2 separate regions of the Homo sapiens genome follow, and region 1 is linked to region 2. Evidence: promoter capture Hi-C in 16 types of primary human blood cells and fetal thymus (Javierre and others, 2016). All regions are on one chromosome and are shown on one strand. Each heading gives the region's core, a stretch centred on a gene start or on the middle of the fragment in contact. The rest is flanking DNA. Distances are from core to core; before and after follow the strand shown.

Region 1 (2,700 bases), core at 9-2,508, 350 kb after region 2:
AAATTTATATAATATATCCAATTAGGTGGTTTGGTAATTTCCTAAATTGGCTTGTTTCAAGTTACTATGAAGGTTATTGAGAATGTTTTATAGTGACTTTTGATGTGGAGGAAGTTGTTTAGTGTACATTTATGATAATCCTATTTAAAAACCTAGAAAAATGCTCTTGGTTAATAACATTTAAAGAATCCTGGTTTAAGAGAAATGCATATTTTAGAATTCTATTATTGAGAGTGAATCTTGGCTGTCTCTTACTAGACATGTAACCTCTGGGAATTTAACCTTTTAACCTTACTTCGTCTGTGAAATAGGACTAATAGCTGTCTCATAGAGCATGGCAGTTAGATGAGATGATACATTCAAAGTGCCCGGCATGGTGCAGATATCCCATGGTTCACTTATATATTCTTATTCCTCTTACAAGGAGCTCTTCTCATTTGGCCTACTTTTCAGATGGAGAAACTTACACAGAGTAATTCGGTCAGATAATTCAAGCCCATATCTGATTTCAAAACCCAAGCTCAAGTATGTTGTACTGCTTATTATCCTTGTCACTTCTCTATATGCTGAAATTTCTGAAAATCCCTCCCAGAACGTGATTTTTTACCAGATTAAGTGACCGCATCTTTCTAAAGCCTCCTTGAAATGAGTCACTTCAGAGGCTCTTCTATTATTAATGCTTCTAATACTTGCATATCTTGAATATCCTCAACTAGTGAATCATCCCATATGGATGCAGTTGAACTTTGTAAAAAGACCATACACACACAAAAGAAATCTGCACAAAAAACCCCCCAAAACCAAAAAACCAAACACACCTGCCTAAAATAGTGTATAATCAAGTTGAGTGAATAAAGTCGGCTACCAAGATGGGATATACTGCTTTTTTCAGATGAGTGAGGGGAGACGATTTCCTGAGACATCAAGATTTTTCTTGATGTTAGAATGAGATTTTTTTTTTAATGGTAAAATTAGTTGACTTGTAAGAATGATACTGTCATGAGTTTTTGACCTAAATTCTTGGAGCCTGTCACTGCTGTCATTGGCTAGGATAATTGTCATAGGGATATGTGTAACTTTAAGGCCTTTGATATGTATTATCAGGAGCCTGCTCCAATTTGAATTATGTTTTCCCTGCCAAGTGCAGCTTTTCTTGGTACAAATTTCTACTTGCTGTTTAGATTTTTGAGTAACAGCAGTGAGAAAGTAACAAAAACAAGCCGCAATTGGGAATCAGGTCAGTCCTACAGGTATTGTGTTACTACTTTGTGGACTTTGTCCTCAAAAATTGTGCTGAAGTCCTATATTGACCTACTTTCTAGACATTGGTTATCCATTCCTGCATGATTTTTAAATAATATTTTCTGTGATTGATGAATAAACTATTTCACTTTCTACTAGAACAAAATGTTCAAGTTGAATGAAGGGTTAAGCCATTTATTGCCCAACTATTCCTCCCCAAGAAAAATATCAATCATATTTCTTTGGCATCCCTGCACACAGCTTAGTTGCCATCCAGTTAGAACCATTTCTTACTACCAACTTTAATTTTAATATCTCTCGATTTTCCTCCTTTTGTTTTTGTTTTGTTTTTTTGTTTGTTTTTTTTTTGAGACAGAGGGAGTCTTGCTCTGTCACCCAGGCTGGAGTGCAGTGGCGTGATCTCGGCTCACTGCAACCTCGGCCTCTTGGGGTCAAGCAATTCTCCTGCCTCAGCCTCCTGAGTAGCTGGGATTACAGGCGTGCATCACTACACCCAGCTAATTTTTTTGTATTTTTAGTAGAGACGGGGTTTCACCATGTTGGTCAGGTTGGTCTCGAACTCCTGATCTTGTGATCCACCTGCCTCAGCCTCCCAAATTGCTGGGATTACAGGCGTGAGCCACTGTGCCCAGCCGATTTTTCTCCTTTAAAAGTCATTATCTGAAAATTATTAGTTTTTAAAGTTCTTTTTCTGTTCCTTTGCTATTCATCTAGCAAGAAAAAGAGTAGACAAGGCCCCAAACTAAATGGACTTTTAACTTTGAAGGGAAAAAAGAAAAGTAATGCTAGGTTGGGCATGGTGGCCCACAACTGTAATGCCAGCACTTTGGGAGGCCAAGGCAGGCGGATCACCTGAAGTCAGGAGTTTGAGACCAGCCTGGCCAAAATGGTGAAACTTTATCTTATAAAACTACAACATTAGCTGGGCGTGGTGGTGCGTGCCTGTCACCCCAGCTACTTGGGAGGCTGAGATAGGAGAATCGCTTGAACCTGGGAGGTGGAGGTTGCAGTGAGCTATGATTGTGCCACTGCACTCCAGCCTGGGTGACAGAGTGAGACTCCGTGTCAAAAAAAAAAAAAAAGTAATACTAAACACAAAGGGTTGGATACAGGACATTTTGAGTAAAAACTAGAGATTACATATGCCAGTACTTAAGAAGCAATCAGAAATACTTTGTGAATTTGAAACTTTATTGAATAGAATCAGAATCCTTGGAGGTCTTAGGAAGCAACCAAACTAAACAATATAAGTAGTAAATACACTAAAGACTACCATTTTACTGAAGTGGGACTATCATGTGCAATGTATATAACTTGGAAGCTAGAGACAAATGTACAAAAAGGTGATTTGGGAGGGAATCATCTAGTGATTTCCTTATACTGTTTTCAGTGTACCAGGGCTTAGACACTTAAAAATGATAAAACCCAAGTTCTGAA
Region 2 (2,700 bases), core at 25-2,524:
AACGACTTCACACCACGAGGTGCAAGACTGGGCTTCGGGGCCTTCCTCGGTGTTGCTATTTTAAAAGAAGCTGCTCAGTAACCCAGAAGAAGATGACGGGGGACGGTGGTGTAGACCCGGCTGGAGAGGAGTCCAGGGCCTGGGAGGCGCCCCCTCTGACTGAGGGGCTGGGGACCCTGAAGCTTGGCGTCCAGGCCCCGCCAGCGCTGCACCCGGCATTGTCCCGCCTGGGGCAGGCGTCCGGTCCCTCGGCAGTGCGGGCCAGCACGTACGTAGTAGCTGCTGAATAAATAAATGCCTATGCAACAGGGAACGTCCCGGCCCACCCCGGCCGGGCCAGGGCCTAGGAAGGGCGGGCGTCCGGCGCCGCCGTGGGTCCCTCCGGCGTGGCCGCCCACACCTCCTGGCCACGGCGGGGCTGCGGTGGGGGGACATCCTGGGGCGGGCGGCTGGACGGAAGGGACTAGAGTCGGGGCGCGTCCACGGCCAACCGCCCCGAACCAAGCAGGGGAGGCCAGGGACCAGGAGCTTCCGGGGCCCCGCGGCTGGAGCGCCCGGACGCGAAGGGGCGGCGGGTGACGGGGCGCGGTGCGGGCGGCTACAGGGCCGGACGGGAGTTCCTCCGCTTTCCGCCGCGCGGCTCGCGGTCTCAGCCGAGGTCATCGAGGGCCAGGAGCCCTGGCGGAGGCCCCGCCGTCCCGGACCCACCGACGCACTCCCAGGGCTTGGCGCTTTCCCACCACCCCGGACCGCCCTTGGGGTGCCGGAGGGGCTCGGGGCGCGGCGTGGGGAGCCTTTGTGCCCTCTCCGCTTGTTGAGGTTTTTTCTCCGGAGGAGAGCTCCCCGCCCGCCACCCCTTTCCTCTCGAAAGTTTTGTGGTTTCCCTAGAAGACGAAAGAGGTTGAGAAGGTTGCGGAGACTTTTGCAATCTTCCCCGTCCAGAAACTCTAAAACCTCTCGGCGTTTGGCCCAGGGGAGCTATCTGGGGTCAAGGGGAGGGAGCTGGCCGCACATTCCTTCGCCCGCCTTCCTCCCACCTGGAGCCGCGGCCCCGCGGGGCAGTGCGTCCGAGCTGGTGCGGCGACGCCGGCAGCGGCGGGGTTAAGCTCAGGAATGCGGCGCGAGGAATGCGCATGCAGATGAGGCGGGCGGGCGCATGCTAATCGCATGCAAATGAGGGGCCCGCCGCTGCCGCGGCAGCGCCGCAGCTTCCCGGATCCGAGCCCAGACGGCGGCGGCTCCGGCAGCCTGGGCGCCGCGACCCTCGGCGGCCAGAGGGGGACGGGGCGGAGGAGGAGGAAGAGGCGGAGGCAGCGGCGGCGAGGGGGAGGAGGGTTCGCTCGCCGGCTCCGACGCAGACATGGTGGACTGATCCGCAGCGGGGCCGCGAACAGCGTTTCCTGAGGCACCTCCCGCGCGTGGTTCCGCCGCGCCCCGCGCCCTGCGCCCCTCAGCCCCTCGCCGGCGCCCGCGTCGCGGGTTGGCAGCCTAGCCCGGCAGCCGCGTTCCCGCCGCGTCCCGCGCCCGGTACCTATGGAGGCGCCGCTCGCCGGCGAGGCCGCCGACCATGCCTAGGAGGGCCGGGAGCGGTCAGCTGCCGCTGCCCCGGGGCTGGGAGGAGGCCAGGGACTACGACGGCAAGGTCTTCTACATTGACCACAACACCAGGAGGACCAGCTGGATCGACCCCCGGGACAGGTGGGCGCCGGCCGCGGGGGCGCGGGCCCGTTCGGACACGGCGGCTGTTGTCCCGGAGACCCGGCCGCGCGGGGGGCTGGGGCGGCGCCGGCCCGCGGTGCCCCGAGGGGTCCCGGGAGGGATGTGGGGCTGGCTGCTCCGGCGGGGCCGAGGAGCCGCCCGTACCCGGGCTCCTCCGCCCACCGGCTTCCCGACGCCCCTCCGGGGACCCGGCCCCGAGGCAAGGCTGGAGTCGCTGCCCCGGGCCGACGCCGCGCGCCAGGCTAACGGACCCGAGGGGCCACCTGAGCCCTGTTAGGAACTTCCCTAGGCTTCGAGGTGCCCACGTGGAGGCTGCAGGACACCTTCGGCCTCTGGGCGGCGGGGGTGGGCTAGGGCCTCACTGCCAGTTGGGGAACGAGCCCTCCGGGCCACCTGTGGCATCCCTCAGGCCGTCCTTGGCGCGGGAGCCTGGGCTGCGAGCTCTTGGCGGGGGCGCCCAGACTGGCCGGAGGTCCCGAGCTGGGAAGGGGCTCCCGCCCCCCGCCGGGCCCTGCTAGTGGGTGTGACTGACTTTGCCCCTCAGAGTTTAAAAACGCGCGTTTGGGGGTTTCGCTGTCTGTCGTTAGTCTTCACCTGAAAACTTGAACCGACTCCCAGATCGGGAACAGGCATATTGTGTTTGGAAGGGAGATGTAGTGAAATTAACGTTGGGTATTGAGGCACTCTGATTTGAGCTTAGCCTGGTTTCTTTGTTTTTTGTTTTTTAAATTGGTTCAGGAACTGAAGGTTCACAAATGTTTCTGTGTCCCATATTTTTTTTACCCTTAAAATTTCTTAGAATTATTGTAAGAATAATAGGAGGTATTCCTAATTATAAATTTGTAAATTATCCATTAAGGAGATATTCCTAATTGTAAATTTAAATAACGTGCCACCAGGGATAACTTCGACATTTGGACTTTTGTCATTTCTGAAAATTATAACTTTATTGAATGTGGCCCTTTGGGCTTTATATACTTT

What was found. Contacts are between HindIII fragments. The CHiCAGO score rates a contact against its expected background, and 5 or more counts as called.
Region 1: a fragment that was not itself captured here is called in contact with the fragment with the promoter of WWC2-AS2 in region 2 in 1 of 17 cell types (monocytes); the score reaches 5.2 in monocytes.

The regions. Positions count from the first base shown.
Region 1 is chr4:183,449,044-183,451,743 of GRCh38, forward strand. It overlaps CDKN2AIP (CDKN2A interacting protein), which reads left to right. Exons shown (of 3, transcript NM_017632.4): 3 at 1-21. Among named protein-coding and RNA genes, the nearest start is that of CDKN2AIP, 5.8 kb to the left of the region's middle. The HindIII fragment of the contact is 4,907 bases long and covers 1-2,700 here.
Region 2 is chr4:183,097,925-183,100,624 of GRCh38, forward strand. It overlaps WWC2-AS2 (WWC2 antisense RNA 2), which reads right to left and starts at 1,275. Exons shown (of 1, transcript NR_024008.1): 1 at 1-1,275. WWC2 (WW and C2 domain containing 2) reads left to right here and starts at 1,333. Exons shown (of 23, transcript NM_024949.6): 1 at 1,333-1,698. The coding sequence starts at 1,568. RefSeq lists an enhancer at 92-386 and a silencer at 92-386. The HindIII fragment of the contact is 3,980 bases long and covers 181-2,700 here.